Regions from separate parts of the Homo sapiens genome. Here regions 1 and 3 are each linked to region 2. The links are contacts of gene promoters, found by promoter capture Hi-C in blood cells and fetal thymus (Javierre and others, 2016). All regions are on one chromosome and are shown on one strand. Each heading gives the region's core, a stretch centred on a gene start or on the middle of the fragment in contact. The rest is flanking DNA. Distances are from core to core; before and after follow the strand shown. Region 1 has its middle 20 kb from the start of OPN1LW. Region 2 holds the start of IRAK1 (interleukin 1 receptor associated kinase 1). Region 3 holds the start of OPN1LW (opsin 1, long wave sensitive).

Evidence for each region. The method cuts DNA at HindIII sites, captures the fragments that hold promoters and counts their contacts. A CHiCAGO score of 5 or more calls a contact.
Region 1: a fragment that was not itself captured here is called in contact with the fragment with the promoter of IRAK1 in region 2 in 2 of 17 cell types (monocytes and M1 macrophages); the score reaches 6.1 in monocytes.
Region 3: the fragment with the promoter of OPN1LW here is called in contact with the fragment with the promoter of IRAK1 in region 2 in 2 of 17 cell types (total B cells and monocytes); the score reaches 6.3 in total B cells.

What each region holds. Positions count from the first base shown.
Region 1 is chrX:154,122,362-154,126,158 of GRCh38, reverse strand. No RefSeq gene overlaps it. Among named protein-coding and RNA genes, the nearest start is that of OPN1LW, 20 kb to the left of the region's middle. The HindIII fragment of the contact is 1,815 bases long and covers 998-2,812 here.
Region 2 is chrX:154,018,652-154,022,281 of GRCh38, reverse strand. IRAK1 (interleukin 1 receptor associated kinase 1) reads left to right here and starts at 2,380. Exons shown (of 14, transcript NM_001569.4): 1 at 2,380-2,605; 2 at 2,684-2,851; 3 at 2,954-3,085; 4 at 3,204-3,307; 5 at 3,495-3,630. The coding sequence starts at 2,470. It overlaps MIR718 (microRNA 718), which reads left to right and starts at 2,293; the gene lies at 2,293-2,362. MECP2 (methyl-CpG binding protein 2) reads left to right here. Exons shown (of 3, transcript NM_001110792.2): 3 at 1-709. RefSeq lists enhancers at 1,261-1,330, 1,446-2,415 and silencers at 2,101-2,480, 2,831-2,930, 2,941-3,010. The HindIII fragment of the contact is 4,941 bases long and covers 1-3,205 here.
Region 3 is chrX:154,142,798-154,146,509 of GRCh38, reverse strand. It overlaps OPN1LW (opsin 1, long wave sensitive), which reads right to left and starts at 2,267. Exons shown (of 6, transcript NM_020061.6): 1 at 2,115-2,267. The coding sequence starts at 2,226. RefSeq lists cis regulatory regions at 2,290-2,363, 2,363-2,380, 2,380-2,397, 2,397-2,457 and a promoter at 2,224-2,457. The HindIII fragment of the contact is 9,614 bases long and covers 1-3,243 here.

The sequences.
Region 1 (3,797 bases), core at 656-3,155, 100 kb before region 2:
AAGAGCCCTTCAGTCAGCAGGTGATGAGTCCCGCTAGGACTGGGTCCTTCTCTTCCCTTCCGGCCGAGGGTGTCTAGAAATGTCGTCTGGGAGCTAGGGCCTGGAATGGGGGCCTCACGACTCTGACCAGTGCCCCATCTTACTGTGGTTGAGCTGGTATCCAAGACACAAGACAATGTCCTCCCCACTTTTCCGTGTCCTCTCCTCAAGCAAGAGGAAGGAGGGGCTCCTGGAGCTGTGAGCGGCACTGCCTGGCCTTGGGGGAGGGGAGGTGTAAGCATGGCCCGAGCTACCCCGGCTGCTATCTCACTAAGTCGCTTGTACCCCAAGTCCGCTGGCTCCGAGCCCAGTCCAGCAGCAGGACTTGCCCGGGACTTGCCGTCCTTGTTGCCTAGACTGCCTTTCAAGTATATTTCAGGCCCCTGAATACTTTAGGCCGCAGTGGTGAGGCTTTGCTGGAGCTCAGGCTCCATCCGCTGAAGATGGGCGATTCCTCTCCGGCTAGGGCTGATGTAAATCCTCCCTTCGTGGGCGCCCGCTAACTTCTGCCCCGTGTTGCTTTCTGCTGGGACACGGCAGCAGCGCTGAGTTCCGACGCAAAGCCCCACAGTCACCGTGCCCTCCCTCCCCCAAGTGTACAGCTTCTCTCTCTGCACCACGAGGCTGCTGCGGAGCGGGGGCTGGGGGTGGGGGGTGCCGGGGCTGAGGCTGGGGCGCGGGGCGGGGAGTGATTCAAGACTGTCCTTCCTACCCTTGTCACGGCCTCTTTCAGTGATGTGAAGTTCAACCAGGTCCTGTGATCGCTCACCTGATTTTTGGATATTAGGAAAGTGCTTTTTTGTGTGGCTAGTTGTTCAATTTGGTGTTCCCGCAGTGGGGATGATCACTGGAGGCTTCTATTTGGCCATGCTGTTCTGCCTCTCTCTCTATCTTCTGTGTTGATAAAGCCCTTTCAATATTAGTAAGTGTATTTAACACAGTAGAGATTCCTGAAGCTTCTTCATGACTGTTCAATTTGGGCCTGATAGCAATATGCGTTTCCTTGTTTCTTATCCTGTGACTGAGCAAGCAGGACATTGTAACAGTGGAGGAAAAATCCCCAGTTTTCCATGTTCTCTCATCCAAAAACTTTTTGAGAGAAAGAGTACATTTAGGAAGCAGGACGACCATTTAGATTTTTACTAATAGCCTGGTTTTATATGGTTGGTTTTATATGGCTATTTATAAATGTTTTGATTTAACTTGTTAAAGTGTAATATCCCAAAATTCTATGATTTATTTTTCTCTTTTCCCATTGCAATATTTATTTATTTATTTATTTATTTTGAGACAGAGTCTTTCTCTGTTGCCCAGGCTTGGGTGCACTGGTGCAATCTCGGCTCACTGCAACCTCCGCCTCCCGGGTTCAAGCGATTCTCTTGCCTCAGCCTCCTGAGTAGCTGGGACTACAGGTGCACCCCACCATGCCCGGATAATTTTTGTATCTTTGGTAGAGACCCAGTTTTGCCATGTTGGCCAGGCTAGTCTCAAACTCCCAACCTCAGATGATCCACCTGCCTCAGCTTCCCAAAGTGCTGGGGTTACAGGCATGAGGCACCACACCCCGCCCCATTCCAGTATTTAAAAACGACTTTTGTGCACAGAAAAGAGATAACATGATGATTTGTTCCCCACAACTTCAACTTATTTAATTTAATTAAAATTTCTAAACAGGTTACCATGTATATAGGAAGGAAAACCCACATTGTATAGAGACCAAAATTTATATAATTTAGGGTTCCTCTTTAAGAATACTAAATCACTTGCAAATGTGTCCATTCATTTAGAAAAAGATAAGAAATCACAACAAATTACAAATTTTAAAAAGCTGACAAATACAACAAAAGGCAGCAAAGTACAATGTTTTTGTTCCTATTATATTTTGTACTGAAGCTACCTGTGTTATCTTTTTTCCCCACATTTTGGCTGCATAGTGTTAGATCGCATCTTCATCTGACAATGATATTGTGACATAATTCTCACTAGAGGGAACAGAAAGATAAAGCAGTCTTCCTTCCACTCTGCTTGACTGAAATGTTTTCTGATTGCTATCACACAGTCTTTGTTTGTTTCCTTATCAGTAAAGCTGCACCAGAAACTTCCTCTGTCATTTCCTGCTCAGAGGCGCTCCCTGCCCCAGGACTAGCTCTCTGGGTGTGGCCTGTGGTCCGTGGTGTGGCCTGTGGTGTGGCCCATCAGTCCGCCCAGGGGTCACTCGCCCTCTGTGTGGCCAGTTGCTGGGTTGCTGTTCCTGCAGCAGCTGCCCTACCCTGGCCAGGCCCTTACTGTCCCTGGTTCTCTCCATCCCAGGACCATCCTAATAACCGTTTCTCCTTTTTTCTTTTTCTTTTTTTTTTTTTGGAGACGGAGTCTCTCTCTGTTGCCCAGGTTGGAGTGCAGTGGCATGATCTCAGCTCACTGCAAGCTCCGCCTCCCAGGTTCAAGCGATTGTCTTGCCTCAGCCTCCTCAGCCTCCCGAGTAGCTGGGATTACAGGTGCTCACCACCACGCCCGGCTAATGTTTGTATTTTTAGTAGAGAAGCAGTTTCACCATGTTGGCCGGGCTGGTCTCGAACTCCCGACCTCAAGTGATCCGCGCACCTTGGCCTCCCAAAGTGCTGGGATAACAGGCGTGAGCCACCGCGCCCGGCCCATCCTAATAACCTTGAAGCCTGATTGTAGCCTCCCCTCTCCCACCTGTCCTCAACCATGCAGGGAGTGGAGCAGTGCCTCACAGGGTTCCTCCTCCTGGAAGTCAAAGAAAAGTCAAGCTTTTGATGAGGTCTGGCAGCCCCCGTGCTACCACTGACCAGGGTGTGAGGGTGGCCCAGGCCTCTAGTGCCCAGCTGGGGTAGCTGCCCAGTCCCCAACTGTGTGGAGAGATTCTCACCGTGGGGAAACTCTAACTTTGAGAGTTTGTCTTAAAAGGCCAGCACTTTTATAGTATCAGAGGTTTGGCCCTACATTTTAAAATGTTTTTCTCTGGTGAGTCTTTGAAGCCAATCAATCAGAATAGTGGTTCCATCAGCTGGGAGAGCCTCAGCATCTTCATTCATTCATTTCCTTTGCAAATGGGCAAAAGTATCCTTTGGGGGAAACTCCTCCCCTTTACTCTAGTTCTAGCTGTACAGAAAAAAAGCCACCATCACCCAGCAGGATCGTCTTTTTTTTTTTAATTTAAAAAAAAATTTAGGGACAAGGTCTTGCTCCGTCACGCAGGCTGGAGTGTAGTGGCATGATTATAGCTGACTCCAGCCTCAAACTCCTGGGTTTAAGTGATCCTCCCACTTCAGCCTCCCAAAGGGTTGGGGTTTACAGGCATGAGCCACCACGCCCAGCCACCCAGCAGAAGAATCTCATCAAACCCTCCAGCATGCTGGAGAGTGTCAAGGAGGCCTCCCCTGAGGACATGAGTCCCTCCCCTGTGACTGTGCCCGGACTGAGGGTCTTTGATGGCTACAGAGTTTCACGGTGTCCCTACAGAGTTGGTCAGCTCAGGAACCCCCAGGTAAGGACTGGCAGGCAGAGGGGCTGCTCCCTACTGTGCACAGCACTACAGAAAGTGTGGATGGAGGATGAGCTGCTATTCAGTGCTGAAGCTTGAAGCTCACACTGGCTCCCACAGCTTCTTCTGCCATCCCATCACCTTATTCCATGCAATCCAATGTATGTATTTTCCTGGGATTTCTCTAGTTATTCAGAGCAGAAGGACCAGCCTCAAGGAGTTCAAGTAGAGGTCAGTCTCATGGGGGCCAGAC
Region 2 (3,630 bases), core at 1,131-3,630:
TGTGCCAGCCCAGAGGCCGAGAGCTATGGACAGCATTGCCAGTAACACAGGCCACCCTGTGCAGAAGGGAGCTGGCTCCAGCCTGGAAACCTGTCTGAGGTTGGGAGAGGTGCACTTGGGGCACAGGGAGAGGCCGGGACACACTTAGCTGGAGATGTCTCTAAAAGCCCTGTATCGTATTCACCTTCAGTTTTTGTGTTTTGGGACAATTACTTTAGAAAATAAGTAGGTCGTTTTAAAAACAAAAATTATTGATTGCTTTTTTGTAGTGTTCAGAAAAAAGGTTCTTTGTGTATAGCCAAATGACTGAAAGCACTGATATATTTAAAAACAAAAGGCAATTTATTAAGGAAATTTGTACCATTTCAGTAAACCTGTCTGAATGTACCTGTATACGTTTCAAAAACACCCCCCCCCCACTGAATCCCTGTAACCTATTTATTATATAAAGAGTTTGCCTTATAAATTTACATAAAAATGTCCGTTTGTGTCTTTTGTTGTAAAAATCAAGTGATTTTTTCATAAGGTTCTTTTACTATTGGAAAAGATGGGCAGCACGCAGTTTTATTTTATTTTTGTAAGTTTTTTAATACATGTGAAAGCAAAGAATACTCAGCATGCCTTTCTAAGTGACGCGTTTGCACCTTTTGTTGGGAAGTACTGTATCCTGTGCTGTTAGCATTCTCGATAAATCTCTCTGTGAAAGTGACTCAAGGTCTGGGCTTTCATTATAAGACAGAAGTCCCCCTCCAGCTCACATGACAGCATGGTGCTGCGTTTCCTCATTGGATCTGGCTGTCCCTGGACACAGGTAGCTGCCTTCAGGCCTGCCACGAGCGGCCAAGGGAAGCCTCCTCCATATGCTGGCCTCGCTGGCCCCTCAGCTTCTTCCAAGCCAGTGCTCTCCAGGCACACTGCTCCAGCGTGTGACGGGAAGGGCCTGGCATGAGTCAGCCTGCAGCACAACCTCCCTGCTCCAGACCCGTATGGTAGGGGCACCCCCTAGGTCTGGATGTGCTGTGGTGCTTTTGGACACCCCCACCCCCGCAGGCTGTGGCTCCTCCTGTGTCTCATTCTGGCCAGGACCCTCACGTGCCCTCTGTTGACTGCTAACGTGGTTCTCTGACCAGGCAAGGGCAGGCTGAGGGGTTTGCCCAAAGGGGGCCCCCTTGTTACTGGCTTCCTTGGCTCTCAGGAGCAGCCTCACCAGGTTGGTAAGGGGCTGGAGGAGACAACTGCTCAAAGGAGTCCAGCTTCACATGCACATGCTAGAAGGTACCCTCGGAAGGCCTGGCCTTCAAAGGTAGATCCCAGGGTTGAAAAGTCAACTTGTATGCATTGAGCATCTCGTATGCCAGCCCTGTTCCGTGAGCTGATGGGCCTTTGTGTGTAAGTAGGACCAAGTGCCCCCGTGGAGGTTAGCATGGGTGTGCAGTCATTTCAGATACTTGAGTTGGTACATCTCAGTAAAGTCTGTCCCGTGAGAAGCCATGGGTTTCATGGTATGGTTGGCATCTTCCTTGGGAGTGGCCACAGTGGTGGTGGCTTCAGGAAAGAGACTCCAACAGGGGCCAGCTGTGGGCCTTGGGCACTTCTCGTTTCTAGGAAAAGTCCTAAGTCTGTAGGGCTAGGGGTGGGGAACCCCTTCGCTGTCAGGATCAAGAGGGCAAGGGGAACTGTCGCTGGAGGAGACATCCAGCTGGAGAAACAAAAGAGTAAGTCTGCGTTGCTGCTTGTGGGGTCTTCCCCATCTCAGGGCGGGGACCGGGGGTGGCGGTCCAGACAAGTAATCAAGGACGATGCCCAGGAGGGGACAGGTACGGGGTGGCAGGAGCTCTGCCGGCGGGCTCAGGAAGCCTTCACCACAGCTGCCTGAGCTCACCCTTGCCAAATGAGGGCTGGGGCAGCAGCAACGCATACACTCACGGCTGTGGCGGGCAGCGTTCTCGGCATATTTCAGGACACCTAAGGAGACTGAATGGCTCAAGGCTGCTGCCGTGTGCAGGGGGCTAGACGTGGGGCGGGCAGGCAGGGCTCCTGGTAACAGCCCTGCAGGCCGCAGTGGAGAGCAGGGTTCCGGCAGGGCCGCCCAGGAGCTTTCGGAAGGCCCGGCCCCGGCCCCTTTCCGAGCAGCCCGGGCCTCCGCCCTGCCCTCTGTCCCCAACGCCGGGAGCCGCCGTTCGTCCTCCAGAGCCCCGCCCGGGCGAGCCCGGGAGGCCGATCGCCGCTCGCGGAACCCGCCGGGACCCGGGCCCTCCCCGGCGCGGGGCGCCCCCGTGTGACCCAGCGCGCGGCCGCGGCGCGCAAGATGGCGGCGGGCCCGGGCACCGCCCCTTCCGCCCCGCCGGGCGTCGCACGAGGCCGGCTCGAAGGGGAAGTGAGTCAGTGTCCGCGGACCCGGCCGGCCCAGGCCCGCGCCCGCCGCGGCCCTGAGAGGCCCCGGCAGGTCCCGGCCCGGCGGCGGCAGCCATGGCCGGGGGGCCGGGCCCGGGGGAGCCCGCAGCCCCCGGCGCCCAGCACTTCTTGTACGAGGTGCCGCCCTGGGTCATGTGCCGCTTCTACAAAGTGATGGACGCCCTGGAGCCCGCCGACTGGTGCCAGTTCGGTGGGTGGCGGCGGGCTGCCGGGGGGCGGGAGGCGCGCGGGCTCCTGGCGCCGACGCCTGACGCCCCCCGCCCCGCAGCCGCCCTGATCGTGCGCGACCAGACCGAGCTGCGGCTGTGCGAGCGCTCCGGGCAGCGCACGGCCAGCGTCCTGTGGCCCTGGATCAACCGCAACGCCCGTGTGGCCGACCTCGTGCACATCCTCACGCACCTGCAGCTGCTCCGTGCGCGGGACATCATCACAGCCTGTGAGCGCGGGACTCCGGGCACCCCACGGCTGGGAGGCCGGCGGGCCCCACGGGGCTCCCCCACCCGGGCCTCAACCTTCCTTTCCTTCCTTGGCGTCCCAGGGCACCCTCCCGCCCCGCTTCCGTCCCCAGGCACCACTGCCCCGAGGCCCAGCAGCATCCCTGCACCCGCCGAGGCCGAGGCCTGGAGCCCCCGGAAGTTGCCATCCTCAGCCTCCACCTTCCTCTCCCCAGGTAAGAGGGCCCGGTTGTTAGGCTCGGTGGACCCAAAGAAGAGCCCACCTTGACCACGGCCACGGCTGTAGACCCTGCTGCTGGTCTCTGCCTGCCTCTCACTGGTGTCTTTATGAAGCTTTTCCAGGCTCCCAGACCCATTCAGGGCCTGAGCTCGGCCTGGTCCCAAGCCCTGCTTCCCTGTGGCCTCCACCGCCATCTCCAGCCCCTTCTTCTACCAAGGTAGGTGTCCCCTGCCCCCCAGGGAAGATTCGAGACAAGGAGGAAGGAATTCAGCCTTTGATGTAGCGCAGAGCCCCAGTCAGCCAAGCTGGGTCAGCTGGGAGGCAGCTGTGGTGGGGAGAGCCTGGAGCCTTGGGCAGAAGGGAAGAGACAGGGACCCCACCTGATCCAGGCTCTCTTCCCACAGCCAGGCCCAGAGAGCTCAGTGTCCCTCCTGCAGGGAGCCCGCCCCTTTCCGTTTTGCTGGCCCCTCTGTGAGATTTCCCGGGGCACCCACAACTTCTCGGAGGAGCTCAAGATCGGGGAGGGTGGCTTTGGGTGCG
Region 3 (3,712 bases), core at 1,018-3,517, 120 kb before region 2:
ACCGGTTTACTACACAACCTAGTGGCATATACCCTCAGGGTAAGAAGACCTGTGAAGATGTTAAGGTTTTGGTCACCAATAGGTGAAGGCAGGGTAAGGTGTCCGAATGCCGTCATTTTCCATCCCCAGTGGTTTAATTGGTCTGGGCATTGAGTTTCAGTAGCTGCCAACACCCCAGAAAAGAGACACTCTCCTTGCCAAAACACACCAACAAATCCAACCTACCTCTGGCCAGATCCTCAGATCAACTACCAATTTACAGAAAAATCATAATGAACAACGTCAGAGGGGCCTGTTAGGCTACGTCATGAACGACTTGCTTGCTTCCACAAATAAATTGCAGGGAGATAGAAAGGGAACCTCTAGATTCAAAGGTAGTCAAAAGGCATATCAGTCAATCTGAATGTGTGGACCTTATTTGAGCCCTGATTCAAGCAGACTGAAAATACGTATGACATTTTTTGAACACTACTAGGATATTTGAAGCTATTCAGGAAATACTGTTACACTTGTCGGTGTGATGATGACTTGTGGTTATGTATTGAGAAGAGCCCTTTTCTCCTAGAGGAACATAGTAAAGATTTACAGAGGGAAGGGTGTGATGTCTTGGATTTGCTTCCAAGAATCAGGAAGAAAGGGTAGTGGAGGGGTCACAGATGAAATGAGATGAAACCGTGGAAGCTGAGTGATGGGTACCGGAGTTCATTACACTCCTCCCTCTACTTTAGTAGATGCTTGAAGTTTTGTGGAAAAAAAAAAAACCCACCCCGACATTTGAAAAGAGTGCACTGAAGCATCATGCATTGATGAAGTCTGGGGGCATCTAGGAAGAGACTGTTGACATTGCCACCAAGGAAATTCTGGGCACAGTCATGTTGAGGTCAACTGCAAGATCCTCATCCGGTTTGGTCTGGGCACTCTGTCACTAATTGGCACTCGGTCCTGGCCACCCCACAGCGGGATGTTTATTGGCAATCAAGGAGCTGGCGTGGCTTCTGGAAACCACAGCCTGCACGATGTTGTTGTTTTTTGTTTTGTTTTGTTTTGAGACAAGAGTCTCACTCTGTGGCCAGGCTGGAGCATAGTGGCGTGATCTCGGCTCACTGCAACCTCCACCTCCCGGGTTCAAGCGATTCTCCTGCCTCAGCCTCCTGAGTAGCTGGGACTACAGGCATGCGCCACCAAGCCCAGCTAATTTTTGCATTTTTAGTAGACATGAGGTTTCAGTATGTTGGCCAGGATGATCTCTATCTGTTGACCTCGTCATCTGCCCGCCTCTGCCTCCCAAAGTGCTGGGATTACAGGCGTGAGCCACTGTGCCCGGCCTGCACGATGTTCTTGAAGGCACCAAAGGAATTTGGTTTGGAGGAGGGACCTGGGGAGAGGGCCAGGAGTGGGGCGGTCACTGGTGTCCTCAGCTTCTTTGAGGGCCTGCGTGCAAAACTTTCGGATTGGGCAACTCCCAATGGCAGGACTCGGGCTGCCCTGATGAGAGCTTTCAGCTTTCTGTTGGGCCTGAGCCCTCTCTCCCAGGACGGCTCCGAATGGAAAGATGGCCCTGGGCGCCAATGCAGCCTCTTCCCCCAGAGGTGTGCAGCCAAAAGCCAAGTGGCCCCATCATGGAGTTTGACAAAATGACTGCTACAGGCTTTGCCGACCCTGAAGTTCTAGAAGTTTCTTGCCCTCTGCTGCTGTCTTCCCCACCCTCCCGCCTCCCTTGGGTGTGTCAGTATGTTGCCTCCTTTCGGCTTCAAATGTAAAGACAGACCCAGCTCTTCCCCAGGAAGCTGAGGGACTCCGTGGAATGAGAGGTCATTCGCTAGCAGTGAACACACTCATCTACGGGCCACAAAGAAAGAGCACATAAACTCTTCCCCGGCCTCGGATTCTCAAAGGGGCTGGGAAGCCTGTGTGGCTTGAGAATGCATATTCGATATTATGGTGTCCTTCTAGATTTGGAGAGGACCCCCCAATTCATGTCATCAGAAAAGCTATGGGAGAAAGCCTTCTCTGCTGGTGGGGACGTGCAGAAGAGAGATTCCCTTGGGCGGGGCAGGTGGGTGGCCGGTGGCCCCCAGTGCAGCCACCCAGCCTCCACGGGCCTGCTGGCTCACCTCTGGTGGAGTTGCTGTTGGTGTAGGTGAAGATGCTGGACTGGGTGCTGTCCTCATAGCTGTCCTGCGGATGGCGGCCTGCGAGCCTTTGGAGGCTCCACTGCTGGGCCATGGCTATGGAAAGCCCTGTCCCCGACGGCAGCCGGCCCTGGCGCATCACCTGAGGGTCACGGCGCTTTATACTGGCCTGTGGGATCAGCCCGGGCCTCTTCACCTTAAAAGCTCCCAAACCCTACACTACCTGATCTCTTAATTGGGCCTGGGACTTAGACCTCCTCCTCCCACCTCTTGCTCCCCTGCTCCTGAGGCGAGCCCGCAAGGGCGGCTCAGAGGGATTTGCTGGGAACCAAACTCAGACGCCCCACCCATCCCCGCCAGGAAGGTGGCGGTGACTGTGGGAGCCGCTGTGGCCCTCTCTGTGTTTATGTGTTCTCTGTTCCCTTCTACTGTCCTGCGTCCGCCTTTGGGGCAGGTGGACCCACGGGTCAGGATTTGCAGACTGGGGGGTGGGTGGTGAAACTGCTCAGAGCCCGAATCCTCCTTTCTCATGTGGTTCTCTTGAAAGCCCAGGGAGACTATTTAGGGCCGAGGCCTGGAACCGGATCCTCCTTGCGAGGCCAGCCATGTCCGTGGGCCCAAACGGGCGAGATTTGTGCCGGGGGGCTCCTCCTCCAGTGTAGGGGGGGCAGACTGACTGCGCACATCCTGCTGTTGGCTTCCCTCCTCCCCCTTGCCCCCCATGAGCTGTAGGTCCTTTGGCCGCCAGGGTGCACATGCAGTGCCCACATCAGCCCACGGCAGCGCCTGCTCACGTCTCCCTTGCCCTGAGTTCACAGCCTTGCCTTGGGCTTCACCAACCACAGGCCCCCCGTCGACAGAGTGTCCAGACAGGCCATCTCTGCTGTCCCTGTGTCCCCACGCTTCGCAGGGGCACGGATGACCTGTTAGTGCCCAACTCCGTAGCCTCGCCTCAGTTTCCAACCAACGGGCCCTGTCCCCTCCACGGCCCACCCGCCCCAGCGCCTCCCCAGGAGCACATCCCCTTTCACGGCTTCCATCAGCTCCCAGCTCCTCAGTCCCCAAATCCAGCTCCTTCCAGGTACCTCCTTTTGGGTTTATTCCTTAAGCTTAGGAAAGCCAAGGCGTGAGCTTGTGGCCTCTTGTCCCTGTTCTCAGAGCCACGATTCTCCAGCATTCCTGGCTCACACTTACACTCCTGGCAGCATGGCTTCTGCTGCAGGCACAAGGGGGCCCTGGCTGCCAAGCTGAAGGCCAGGGCTGCATGGAGCCCCAGCCTGGCTACCCATAGCAAGAATGGCTTTTAACATCTGTCGCTGCCTGCCACGTGCTAGGTGCCAAGCTAGGGGCCCCATGTGGAAGAGAAGACGAGTCCTGGCCACAGACTTGCCAGGGCCCATTCACAGCCTAGAAAGGTGAGCTTTTTCCCCAACTCTGGCACTTCTACACCTGTGTACCCAAGAGACTTGAAAATGTGTGTCCACACAAAAACCCGTACATGAATACAAACAGAGCACTGTTCCCAACAGGCCACATGGTAGAAGCAACCCAAAAGTCCAGAAGCAGATGAGTGGGTAAAA